4 separate regions of the Homo sapiens genome follow, and regions 2, 3 and 4 are each linked to region 1. Evidence: promoter capture Hi-C in 16 types of primary human blood cells and fetal thymus (Javierre and others, 2016). All regions are on one chromosome and are shown on one strand. The core of a region is centred on a gene start or on the middle of the fragment in contact, and the rest is flanking DNA. Distances in the headings are between cores, read along the strand shown.

Region 1 (3,447 bases), core at 564-3,063:
ATAATCTGGCAATATTGATTTTTCAGGTAGCCATCTGCTCACTATCCAAGAGGCCTATGAAAGGAATGGCTGAGTATGGCACCCACTTTAGAATCATGGAAAGTTATTTTCTTGCTGATCCAAATCCAAATTTATTTTAATGGGTGCTACATGTTCAGAACAATTCTGTGGCCCATGGGCATTCAATAAACAGCTGGACCATGCTACCTCCACAAACTGACCAAACAGTAAAGGTTAGAAGAGGTATACAGAGTTGTGAGCAGACTGTATAAACTGGATGGGACTAAATGTCAATATTTTTGGCGATTAAGATGGAAGGCAAACTTAAAAGCTATCTTAAAGTCTTTTTGATAAGCTTGGAAATATGTTTTTAGATTAGGCTTACAGTATTATAAAGCATATTTTTCTTTGAGAAGGCTAAAAACCTTAGAAAGACACTTGTACTTACATGTCAACACATAACTCATAATTGCATTTCGAAGGAAGGGAATGTTATTCACAACGTTCCAAAATCCCTTGAAGTGGGTAAGTATGTAGTGCACTGTGTTTGGAGTGGGTTTCAGAAATAATTTTATTCTTGTCAAAAATTCCGCTGCAAGAAGACGAAGAAAGGGAGGGAGAAATTAATGGGACTCATTATAAGACACAAATCTATACAATGATAACTGTATCCAGCCCCACTCCTAATGAGGCAACCAAAGGACAAACTTACGTGTTGAGCAGTTTTCTCCATAGAATCCTGTCCGGGTACAATCGCACTTATACTGGTCAAATCCCACACTCATACATACACCTCGGTTTTGACATGGGTGGGAACAGCAAGGATTTGCTGCAATTAAAGGACAGCAAATAAATCATTCTCTAGTGTCTTAATCTTAATTTAAACATTTAATTGTTTGACTATGAATCAACTTTACAATAATAAATTCAAGAAATATATAGGTAGTCATGGAAATACAATTTTTTAACCTGCCTTAGAATGGATAAAACGTAGAAATACCAATTTTCTATTCTAAATAAGGATAACAGCATATTCAACTTGGTACATCATGTTACTAAGCTTTTCTTAGTTAACTCTTTAGATGTTAAAATTAGCATTTTTAAGAAGTTCAAATAAGTAGCACTTCACTTTCCAAATTAAAATGGATCTAGTACACTAATCAACATTTAGGGAAAAATTCAAAGTAAAACAGCTTACTTTTAAGACATTTTGCTTATCTTAAAACATAATCCGGGCTTTCCTGGGAGCAGGAAAGAACTGACTAGAATATTTAAAACAACTTCTTCCACTCAATAAAAAGGTTCCAAATATAAACAATTCACATATATTGATCAGATCCTGTCTTATCATAATGACAACCTGCAAATTAGTATCATCTATCCCTATTTAGGAGGTGAGAGTGTCTCAGATCGGTTAAGTAACTGGCTCATAATGATCAGTGCTTGTGGGAAAGCTGGAATATCCACGGAGTTCTTTCGAACTCTAGCGGTCCAAGCTCTTTCCCAAGTCACGTAGCTTCTCTATTCGGAGAGAAGTCGGAGTACTGGGATAGACCCAGGAGGTCAGAGCGGAAACTCTGCCCGGGTGCGTGGAACCGGAGTCCCCGGTGCGCGGCGCCAGGTACTCACCTGTATGGCTGAGCGCCAGGACCGCGCACAGCAGCAGGGCGCGGGCGAGCATCGCAGCGGCGGGCAGGGCGCGGCGCGGGGGTAGGCTTTGCTGTCTGAGGGCGTCTGGCTGTGGAGCTGAAGGAGGCGCTGCTGAGGAGTTCCTGGACGTGCTCCTGACGCTCACTGCAAGTCGTATGACAATTGGTCGCTAACCGAGAGAACCTTCCTTTTTATAAGACTGAAAACCAAGCCCATGTGACGAAATGACTGTTTCTTTCCGCCTTTTCGTACCCCCCACAAATTTTTCCCTCCTCTCCCCTTAAAAAAATTGCGTAAGCCCGGTGGGGGCAGGGTTTTTTACCCACGGAAATGAGAAAATCGGAAACCCAGGAAGCTGCCCCAATTTGGGAGCAGAGGGGGTAGTCCCCACTCTCCTGTCTGATCCCTCCCTCTCCTCCCCGAGTTCCACCGCCCCAGGCGCACAGGTTTCCGCCAGATGTCTTTTCTTCTTCGCAGTCTTTGCCCGAGCGCTTCCGAGAGCCAGTTCTGGACTGATCGCCTTGGATGGGATACCGGGGGAGGGCAGAAGGACACTTGGCTTCCTCTCCAGGAATCTGAGCGGCCCTGAGGTCCGGGGGCGCAGGGAATCCCCTCTCCCGCCGCCGCCGCCGTGTCTGGTCTGTACGTCTTTAGAGGGTCGAGGAAGTCACGTCGGGACAGACTGGGGCGAGTAAGGTTAAGAAAGGCTGACATGTTTTATGTTTTAGTGACGACGCTTAATAGGCTGTATATCTGCTCTATATGCAGCACATACATACATAGCTTTTTAAAAAACTCTTATTTTGTGGAATGAAATAGCTACCTTCAGTGTACATAGCTGTAATTTATCTTTGTAGCTAAGTTGCTTTCAACAGAAGAAATACTGTTCTCCGTACCTTCACCCCCTCCTTGTTTCTTGGAAAGAGAGGCGGGAAAGGTAAATTCTCCTCATAATACTGGTCCTAAGCAGTTACCCTGTAAATAGTTAATGTGAGCTCCACGGGTCACCAATATAAAGTTTCCTGCCTTCTGATGGACAAAGGAAGCGGCGATGGCCAGAATTTGCAGGGACGCTAAATGTCCAAAACGTATGCCTTAAGGCATTTCTCTCCCTGATGCGTGGATTATTTTGGTTACTAGCCCTTCATAGGAGATACTGGTAAAATAAATTCGAGTTTTAAAGTTCACTCTTTTGTCTTTTCTGTCCACTTTTCCAAGATTATGAGTTGTGACCATGGATCAAAGTACAACATAGCATTTACTTTTCAGTTGCCTGGGCTTATTGGGGCTAATTTTCTATTCTCGTTTTGGAACATAGTTGGATGAGGAATTAATTAGATGGAAGGGAGATTTTGACAGTTGGAATTTCATCTTTGCTTTTGTTTAACATCTATCATGGGTAGTGCTCAGGGAGGAGCATGTGAGGGTGAGATACTAAAAAATATATATATGTATATGTGTGTGTGTATATATACATATATATATACACACACACCAGAAAAGAAGTGGAAAATAGAAAATTCAGTTATGTCCTAAGTCCTTAGCATTACAGGAAAATGACAGCATAAAACCTGAAATAAAACTACACCAGGTACCTCAATTTGTAGAAGTCTTATAAGAAAAAAATAAATAAGAGACTCACTTGGAGGTTTTTTTTTTAACTGTTTTGCTTAGTGTACACATCTGATTCTTCATGAGACACGGATGACTAAAATTCCATCTCATCTAGGAAGCCTTTCTCCTCCTCTAGTCATATTTCATCATTCCATTTATGGCACTCCTATTTATTGCATGGAA
Region 2 (3,447 bases), core at 248-2,747, 290 kb before region 1:
CCAGTAGGGTTGAGACATGCAGAAGTATAAGAAAAAGTCAGTTTCGGCCTAGGGAACACCCTGAGTAAAGACACATAGTTAGAAAGCCTAGGATGTGTATGGAAAACAGTTTATAGCCTCATTTGACACTACTTTTCAAGTAGTTTTTGACAAATATTTGAATTACTTGAGGAAAAGTAGTGTCAAATGAGGGTATAAACATCATTGACCAGATCCTAGAAAGTCTGAAATATCAATCTAAAATAAAACTTCATTTTATTTAGCTGATGGTGGGACGCCATTGAAAAAATATTTCAGTCTTTGATCTCCTGAGAAAAGGATTTATTTATTGATGTAGCTAAAGGATGTTGTTATCAGATAGTTTTATTTATAAAGTAGTTTTAAGGTGAAAAGCTAAGGACATGCTAAGCAGACAGTTTCTCAAACAGAAAGGATTGCATATAATGCCAATTTGTTAGCTAATAATATATTTCTATTTTTAGGTATCCAGAATGCTACCAGGGGGACTTTTAGTTCTTGGAGTATTTATTATTACTACTTTAGAACTGGCAAATGATTTTCAAAATGCCCTGCGTAGAGTAAGTTTGATATATCGAAAATTCTTAATGAAATCAGTTATATGTTATTTTTACTGATTATGAGTATGTGTAATGATTCTAGGCATATTTACATTTGTTTTCCATAATTCTTTTTGTTGGGGTTACATTGAAAAAGCTTTTGTCACTCAATTGCTTGGATATCTTGAGTGTAAAAAATGTTTATATTTTTAAAAACTACACATTTTATTTATTATTTTTTCCATGGGTAATTTTATTCTTTATTTAGTACACTACCCAAAACAGGGCTATCATCAGCCCATATGGCATTTCATACAAATTTGAAAAAGCTATTCTTTCCTCAAGTTAAAAAGTTAAATTATTTACTTCTCAATAATAACCATGACTAATGACAGTAATTCCATGTAAATTATGCAAACAAATAATTCATTGTAAAATATTGAAAAATTCAAATGATTAATTATAATATTAAGAACTCAAAGTCACTTGGATCTAATAATTTGTTGTAAAAAAGGCATCTTTGTGGAAGTAATTCTTTTTGACAGAAAAACTACATATTTTAAAATAATCTTTATTTTAGAGGTAATTTCTGACTATTAGGAAACAAATTATAATGCTTTAAACAGTTTTTCTTATGCAATAGCAGTATTCTGTCACACCTTCCATTTAGTACCTAGTGATTACTGTAACATGAAATTAATAGGTGCTGAAATTCTTTACCTTCTTCTCAATTCTCCGGAGATCCTGAGAGTAAAACATAAACAATCAGATTATTCCTGGACACAGTATCTATCAGAAATCTCCTGTGTTTTTTGCTTAATTGCTGCACCAGAGAATTGGGTAACATAGTGTAAAAGTAAATATGAAGGTCCACATGCTGTTTTCCCTTAAACCCAAACCTAAGGTAGATTCTGTGTAGCCAGCTCTTTTAGCATTCAGGATCCACATGAACTTTTTGAAGGGTATTTCATACCCCAAAAGAGGGGGAACCTTAAAATCTTGAGACATATAAAACCCAACCCCAACAGTATCCCAGAAAAACATTTTTTAGGTAAAAAATATACAGCTGAGAACTTCAGATGTTACAGATTTTTTCAGTCTTGTAACCTGTCCTGTCAGATGTCCCAGCCTCAAGCCTTTGATATTTGCACCTAAGGGAGTAAGGGAAGAAAATGGAGATATTCTCCTCCCTGCTAAATTGTTTAACCCTCTGCCAACTTTTCCATCTTAAATAAATTTACCTTGTTTACAATTGTTCATTCTCTTTGGCATTTTGAAATTTAACCGAAATCTATGCGTATTTAATATTAATAGCATTCATTGTGCAACCTTTTTTGGCTGGTGCTGAATTGAGGGGGTTGAATGTGGGCCCAGTGCTAGAGAGATACAGCCAGGCCCACTTTCCTTGCTTTTGTATCTTTTGTTCCTAAAAAGTATATAAAACTTTAGAAATGCTTTATCTCTGACATTACTGAGTTTCAATTATCTAATTGTTTCCACTGGCTACACTGACAAACACTACAAGAAACAGCCTTATAAAACTTGTCAGTGTCACCCATTATTGTTAAGGACTTTATTCATCATATTACATTAATATTGTGTTTCCGGAAGAATTTCTTTTTATATTATGAAGAAGGTTGTGCCTCCTCTGATGATTGTTTTTAGCTTACAGACCATGTGAATTAGGTTACAGATTAGATTTCTCTCTGCACATTATTGTTAGAAAGCTTAGACCGAAATGTATTACCACCCCTTACATCAAGTATGCATTTTTATAATTCTTATTTCTGACACAAATTTATCTCACTATTCTACTTTAACTTTCAATTTGTTATTACTATATTTTATATGTTGTTATATATTGCCTTAAGTCTTGTGTGACGTTTAAATAAGAAATGCTAAATGGGTGACATGCTTGATTTCTTTAGTTAAAATCACTTATCATTTCTCATTCTAATTAAAGTCTCTGTTCTATAGTTTATATAAATTCTAGTTGCCCCAAATTAATTTTTTGTGTCCAGTTAATCTCTAATGATAGTGAATTAAATTTTTTTATTTAAACCCAATTTTTCTGTAATTTCCTAAAAGGAATTCAAAAATGTTAGTAATTAGCTCCAGTCTTTAATTTGAAGAAAAGAAAAATTAATGGTGGCACACACCTGTAGTCCCAGTTACTTGGGAAGCTGAGGTGAGAGAATCACTTGAGCCCAGGTGTTCAAGGCCAGCTTGAGCAACATAGTGAGACCCCTTCTCCAATAAATAAAGAATCATGGAATTTTAAAGCTAAATGAGAGTTGGGGACATTATAATTGCCTATTTCAACACTCATCTTTTTTTTTCATTTTACATTCAATTAGTGTGTATTTTTCTCTCTTTCAGCTAATGTTTGCTGTGGAAAAGTCTATAAATAGAAAGAGATTGTGGAATTTCACAGAGGAGGAAGTCTCAGAACGAGTGACACTTCACATTTGTGCTTCTACAAAAAAGTATCTTTTGTTCAGTTTATGGTTTAAAAGTACAAAGTACCAAAATAATATTCTTGCAAGGTTTTTTTGCTATTTATTTAAATCATCATTTAAAAAATAGGCATAGTTTTGTAAGATTTTTCTGTAAATAACATGGAATTAGAGCCACCAATAATAATAATAGCAATAATGGTTGTTAATCATGTCCCAAGGTGATAAAAAGCTTGAGATCTGTAATATGAAAGACTCAGGATTCTGAATTTTTTACCAGCTATCTGCCCTGTACATCCAAGCACAGCAGATTCCCTACAGAGATAAATGCCTAACTGATGGCTTAGGCAAAGTAATGTTTTTATTATGTTAAAGTTTTCACCTCCAGTTTCTATAGATAAGGATGTACAATTCAAAGCACAGGTGCACAGAGC
Region 3 (3,447 bases), core at 441-2,940, 260 kb after region 1:
CTTTTGTAATTTTCACTTTTCTCTCAACTGCCTCTCAGACAAAAATTTTGAATAGTTTACAAAAATTAGCACACATGGGATCCATTCATTCAAATGTTTATTAAAATATTGGCTAAAATGTTTGTCATGCTTATGGTTCAGAACGCACTTATCACATTTGCTATTTTATTCCATGTTTCCTACAACCGGGGAGTAGGTATTTTTAGCTCTGTTCAACAGAAGAAAAACGAAAACCTCATAAAGATTAAATAATTTGCACATTGCTGCTTAGAACGTAATTAGCAGTGCTGAAATTGGTTTCAAAAATCCTTTGTTCTTTTTATTTTACCATACTAACTTCTGATGTGTACATAGTGATTACCGTCTATATAGATTGCAGCAGTCTGCCGGGCGCTAAGGATGAATTCCTCTTTCCTCACCACAATATATTGTCCCTACCCTATAAGACCTTATAGTCTGTTTGGAAAATTTACAATAATTATTAAAGAAGTTAAGGCACAAGAGAGTACAGAACTGTTACTATACACTGTCATTTTGACCAAGTTATATAATCTACGTTAGACCCAGTTTTCTCATCTGTTAAGTGAAGATGAGACTTCTCACAATGTTTTGCCAAAAAATGAGACAAAGTATGTAAACAATGGCAGGCCCTAATAATAAGTTTCCAGTACATTTTAACAATTTAGAATGTTCTGTGAAAGCTGTATAAGAAAAGTCAGAGGTCTAGATCTTAAAGATTAATAGGATTTGAATATGAAAGGCACATTTAATTATTGGATTGTGGAAGGGGGCATGTAGCAGGGTCAGGGATAACTCAGGTGTGCTCAATGGCAACAAGGAACCACACATCTTGGGCTATAATGGGGTTCATAGTAGAGAGTTGAGACTTTATTACATAGAAAAGTAAGCGCCATAATGAAATTGCTTCCCCCCAGCCATAGCTATTATCTTGTGGAGCTTTGAAATTTTTGGAATTGTTTGATCTATAACACTTGCATGCTAGTCAGATTTTTGCATGGCCAAATAAATCATCCTTCACCCAGAAAGAATTACATGGTCAAAAGAACACTACATTCTAATTTAAAAGCCTTGTCTTACAATACTTCTAAGCTGAATACCTCAGGCTAGTCATGTAATCTCTGATTCTTATTTTCCTCCTTATTTTAAAAAATATATTAACCCTAAGATTTATCTTCCAGAGCTATTAAGGCAATAATATGAAATATGCATAAGATGAGACTGAAAACTATAAAGAGGCATACAAATATAAAAGTTTGTTTTTATTGTCATGATTGTTCTGGACTTTTCACGGTGGTTATATTTTATTCTGAATTTTTAGTCAATAGCCATTTTCCAAGAAAACTTAACTAAAATAATTAAAGAATAAATAATATTTGGGTGAGTGGATATTCTGGGTTCTTTTAGACTGAAAAAATGCTGTTTTATATTCAGTTAGTAGTCTTTGGACCTGGATGTGTCTTCTTTTGACATCTGCTTCACTGCAGTACTGCTACTGAGATGAGTGGTGCATCATTAACCTTCATTGTTAAGCTTCTGTCATAAGGCGGGTTGAGCTGTGTCTTCCAACAGATTTAGACAAAATCATTAAACATTAATTATATGAATCTTGTACCCAGATAAGACATCTTAAGGTACATGTCTTGAGTGTTCAAGTAGCTTTACTTGAGTTACTGGGAAAAAAAGAATAGAGACACGTCTGTAATTTATTCTTCCAATATATGCTTAGATTGAAAGTGGCTGTGTAGAAGAAAAAGTTGAGATAGTCTCTGAATTATATTTTTAAAAGTCAAATAATCAAATTAGCTTACAGAAGCTTTATTAACAATTTTACTTCAACAATACCGGATAATATTTTCCCTTCCTCTTGGAATAATTTTAAACACACCTTTCATTTAGAAATTTCTTGGAAATTTTCAACAAATAAACATTGGTGTTTAAACTGTTAGAAATTCCTGACTCCTCCACTACATCACATTGCTGAAAGGACTTAAAACGTTCATTTAAAAATTTCCACTGGTGAATAAACTGCATTTATGGATTACAACTTATGGTTATGAACTTAGCATCATGCTAAATTTTTTGACAGACACTTTAGAAGTACAAATATAGTATTTTTCCTCAAGAAAGTTATAATCCTATTGAAAGAGACAAAAATAAAGCATGGAAAAATTCCTATAATATACCTAGACCTGACATAAGTGTGTAGACCTGACATAAGGGTGAGATGTCATAGAGATTTAGTATAGTTGTAAGAAAGGGTGATGAAACTTGGATTTAAGTCGAATGTAGAAGGATCTATCAAGTACGGGTAAAAAGATACCTTTGTGTGGAAACAATATGAGAAAATGCTCAGAAGGGAAGCCAGAGTTATGTTTTGGGCATCACTATTAAAAAAAACAACTAGTCTAGGACTTATGCACACATTGGTGAAGAAAAGGTGTTGTATTTGGAGGCACCAATAGTCCCAAGTTATGGAATGATTTTAATTCCAGACAGAAATATTTTTATTTGATTTTGATGATAATGGAAATAGTTAATGCTTTTGTGCAGGGCAATAAAATTATTTATGTAGTGTTTTTGAAAAAGTCACTTTGGTGACCAATAAAAACAGAATGGAAAGGAATGAAACTGGAAGCAGAGATATCACTGTGCTTTTGTGATAAGGCCCTGGAACTAGGGACATACTGATAAGAAAAGAATAGATGGATATGAGAGGCCTAAAGGTTATCGGTGTGATGCAATGATGGATTTGATAGAGTGATAGCATGGTTTACTGAAATAGGTAAGCTGGCCCGGGAAGAAGGGTGATGAGTTCTTATCTAGGTAAGTATAGTGGGAGGAGATGACAGAATATCTGAGTGTAAGGGCCCCAAAGGAAGTTGAAAGTACATGGAAGCGCAGGAGAGAGGTTGGAGTCAAAAGGTAGAGTCACCAGCAGGAGAGAATTAGTTGAAAACTAACACCGTGAGTTCTTCAGTGAGGGGTGCAGAGCTCATTTTAGCTTTTGAGAATGCCTAAGTTACTATGTGCCCAGGCCATGGCGCTAATCAAGAAGAGATCGCTAGAAAAGCAGGAACCAGGAAGTTGTTATGCCTCAGTTCCCATGATAGGGTTGTGAAATTGAGAGATAGGAAATTACTTGTATGAATACAGGAATTTTCCTAACAGCCTCTGATTCATTGCTAGTTATGTCTCACAAATTCCACGTAAATCGTTGTAAATCACACCACTTTCTGATGAAGAATATATGTACCATTTGGCTTTGACATATAATGAATTACAATGTTATCAAAATTGTGATTTCATCACTTCCTTCATGAAAGGAAGGTGTTGTGACCTACCATTGAACAAACAATAAATATAGATCCACAATTCCTTTTCCAAACCTTTGGTGACATGTGTTTTAGAATTCAAAATGTTTGGATT
Region 4 (3,447 bases), core at 1-2,500, 260 kb before region 1:
AAAATAAAGGATCAATTTACTAGGTCTATATAATAATTTTCAGTGTGCATTCACCATATGAAATGGCCCCAAAATGTATGAACTGAAGCAACAATAGGGCTGAAGCAACAAAATGAGCAATAATGGGAGATTTCAACAACTAATTAATGATAAAGAATTAGTGAAAGCATTTTAATGTAATTAATACTGATTCAATAAACATTTAGAATAATGTATTAAACAATTAAAGAATATTTTTCTTAAGCATTGTATATTAGCAAAACTGGACCCTGTATTTTAAGCATGAGGCAAGTCACAAAACATCAAATAATTGGTATTAAATGGATAATCAGAAGCAAGTAGAGGTCAGTAATAAAGGTTAATTTTTTTTAAATATTACATTTACATGTTTAGATCTTCACAGAGGAGAAAAAGAAATACTTAAAGCCTAGTTACAAGTAATATATATTTTTAAATTGGGTATTGTAGCTGAAACAGCACTTTGAGGGAAATGGCTTTAAATGCTTAAGGGAAAAGACTAAATGTGCAACTTAGAAAAACAATAGCGAAAGCAATGTAGAAGCAAGGAAATACAGGAAAGGGAATAAATCAATGAATTAGAAACTGATAAAGAATTATATGTTAAAGTTGTTATCATGACAAACAGTAAAACGCATAATTGAACAAGATGAAACGGGACACAAAGATTGAAAAAGGGGTCCAAATCCATTGATAAAGCAGGGATGAAAAGGTGACTACCAGGAACATCTTAATGCTAATGTATTTGAAAACTTAGACAAAATAGACCAAACTCTAGAAAACTGCAATTTACTTAAATTGGCTCAGGAAGAAATAGAAAAGCTGAATATACTTATTCATAGGTTGAATAGTAAACAATAATTAACTTTTTGACAAGACCTGGCACAGGTCTTTCAAGGGGGGTAAAATTCTAACATTTTATACAAGCTCTTTCAAAAATAGCTAATGAGGGAATACTTGCCAGCATATTGTGTGAGGTTGATATAACTTACTGATATTAAATCAGAGACATTCAGTAGGAGAAAAGAAAATTACAGGCTGATAGCACTTACTAACACTTGTAAAGTCAAAAGCACTATTAATAAACTTTGACAAAACAGTGCATCATGACTAAGTTGTATACTTTAAAAATCAGGAACACAAGGGTGGCTATTATCACCACTACTTGTGCTTTTTTTTTTTTTTTTTTTTTTTTTTTTTAAGATGGAGTCTCGCTCTGTCACCCAGGTTGGAGTGCAGTTGCGTGATCTCGGCTCACTGCGGTCTCCATCTCCCAGGTTCAAGCAATTCTCTTGCCTCAACCTCCCGAGTAGCTGGGATTACAGGTGCCCACCACCACGCCCGGCTAATTTTTATATTTTTAGTACAGACAGGGTTTCACCAAGATGTCCAGGCTGGTCTTAAACTCCTGACCTGAGGTGATCTGCCTGCCTCGGCCTCCTAAAGTGCTGGGATTACAGGTGTGAGCCACTGCACCCGGCCACCACTTCTATTTATCATTGTCCTGTAGAAAAATAAGCAAATGACAAACCAGGTATTTTCAGAGGATATGACTGAACACATGAAAAGAAGTTTTACCTTGTAAGTGATTGGCTAATTAAAACCATAATTAATAACATTTTACATTCAATAGATTGAAAAATTAAGGAATACAACAATACCAATAAAGATGATGTGCCTCAGTCTTTCACACTGCAGATAGGATTTTGAACTGATAGACTCTGAGCTCAGAAAGCAATTTGGCACTATCTCTTAGAGTTAAGAATTCACGTACACTAACCATTCTACCTCTACATAAATGCCTTAGAGAAATTCTTGGATATGTGTACCTCAAGAGTACACATGTGAGAATGCTTGTGGCAGCCCTGTTTTTAATTACTCAAATGTCCGTTGACAACAAAAAACAAATTACGGGTTTTGTAATTTTATTCAGCAGGGAGAATGACCTACATACAACAACCCAGAGTAATCTTAAAAATGATAAAGCAAGTCTCAGAAGTCTACATACAGTATGCTACAGTTTTTATAAAGCTATAAAAGAAACCTAAACTGTATTATGTAGGAATATGTATATTTGTGATAAAACTTTTTCTTTTAAAGGAGTCATAAAACTCAGGATAGTGGCAAGGTGTAACACATGAATACATAAAACAATATTAGTGATACTTTCGTTCTTGAGTAATGGGTTTCTTGATCTTCATTTCATTTACTTAATGGCACTAACATAAATTTTGGGTGGGGTTGTCTGTTACTAACAAACTACCCTCAAACTTAATTAGCTTAAAATAACAACCATTTCACTTGCCTCAATGCTGTGAGTTGATAGGAATCAGCTGGGTGGTTTTGCGCCACATGATGGTGACTTTAGCTGCAGTTATCTAGGGGCTGGATTGGGCTTGAAACATCTGAGATACTCATGCACATGATTGGCAGTTAATGGTGGCTATCAGCTGGGAATTCAGCTGCCACATCTCAGTTTATGTGGCTTCTCCATGGGACTTGGAGTTCTTCCAGTCGTGGTGGCTGGGCTTGCTATCATTTATGGCTGGGATCCAAGAAGCAGCATCCCAAGTATAAGCATTTCAAGAAGAGGAAAGTAGAAGCTAAGTCCTTTTGGGGCCTTAGCTTGGAAATCCCAGAACATTATTTTCACCACATTGTATTGGTCAAAGTAATCTACAGGGTCAGCCTAGATTAAAGAAAAAAAAAAAAAACCCCTTTTTGATGGGAAGGGGTCATGCATACACGAGCAAGAAAGAAATTGATGGCAGAAATCTTTGGTAGTTACAATGTACCCCCTGGTCATAGTAATTTGTGTTCCTGATGGAAAATTATTTCACTACCTCCTAGGAAACCTTAAAGTCTCATCTCAATATGACATCAAGTTCAAGCTCAAGACCCAGAATCTCATGATCTAAACCAGTTTCAGTAACATATGAGGCACCTTTACTACAGTTTCCCTCAATCCGAAGATGTGTGAAACTAAAGACAAGTTTTCTTTCCCATATTCACCCAGCCTACGATGGTGAGTCAGGCAATATACACTCTTGTTTAAAAAAGAGGAAAAATGAGAGGTACATAGCAGTGAATGGTTCATAGCAATTCTGAACTCCAATTGGGCACGTCTAATTCCTTATGATTCTGGGAGCACAGAATGTATGTCAATTAGGGCCTAATTCTACCTGAGAGTGGTTCTCAACTCTTGGCTCTTCCCTGTAAGATCTTGACTTTGCTCTGAGTCATTCTTTTCCATGACTTTTCCATTAGAAAATCCATACTCATCTCTTCAAGACAGGCCTGTCTCTAATTTGAACTCAGAGGATGTTGAGGAACAGCACCCTTAACTACCTTAGATACTCATTATCGAGCAAAGTAATCTACAAAATGTGCTCATAAGATTCTTAGAAGTCTTTTTGTCTAGCTAAGAGG

The links. Contacts are between HindIII fragments. The CHiCAGO score rates a contact against its expected background, and 5 or more counts as called.
Region 2: a fragment that was not itself captured here is called in contact with the fragment with the promoter of PTGS2 in region 1 in 1 of 17 cell types (megakaryocytes); the score reaches 5.8 in megakaryocytes.
Region 3: a fragment that was not itself captured here is called in contact with the fragment with the promoter of PTGS2 in region 1 in 1 of 17 cell types (M1 macrophages); the score reaches 5.2 in M1 macrophages.
Region 4: a fragment that was not itself captured here is called in contact with the fragment with the promoter of PTGS2 in region 1 in 1 of 17 cell types (neutrophils); the score reaches 5.5 in neutrophils.

What each region holds. Positions count from the first base shown.
Region 1 is chr1:186,678,610-186,682,056 of GRCh38, forward strand. PTGS2 (prostaglandin-endoperoxide synthase 2) reads right to left here and starts at 1,814. Exons shown (of 10, transcript NM_000963.4): 1 at 1,630-1,814; 2 at 713-829; 3 at 449-592. The coding sequence starts at 1,681. It overlaps PACERR (PTGS2 antisense NFKB1 complex-mediated expression regulator RNA), which reads left to right and starts at 2,045. Exons shown (of 1, transcript NR_125801.1): 1 at 2,045-2,837. RefSeq lists an enhancer at 1-164. The HindIII fragment of the contact is 7,534 bases long and covers 1,059-3,447 here.
Region 2 is chr1:186,385,506-186,388,952 of GRCh38, forward strand. It overlaps ODR4 (odr-4 GPCR localization factor homolog), which reads left to right. Exons shown (of 14, transcript NM_017847.6): 4 at 483-578; 5 at 2,937-3,043. Among named protein-coding and RNA genes, the nearest start is that of ODR4, 11 kb to the left of the region's middle. The HindIII fragment of the contact is 1,570 bases long and covers 713-2,282 here.
Region 3 is chr1:186,941,316-186,944,762 of GRCh38, forward strand. All of the region lies in intron 10 of PLA2G4A (phospholipase A2 group IVA), which reads left to right. Among named protein-coding and RNA genes, the nearest start is that of PLA2G4A, 110 kb to the left of the region's middle. The HindIII fragment of the contact is 283 bases long and covers 1,550-1,832 here.
Region 4 is chr1:186,422,255-186,425,701 of GRCh38, forward strand. It overlaps a transcript of ODR4 not described here. Among named protein-coding and RNA genes, the nearest start is that of PDC-AS1, 11 kb to the right of the region's middle. The HindIII fragment of the contact is 8,322 bases long and covers 1-3,447 here.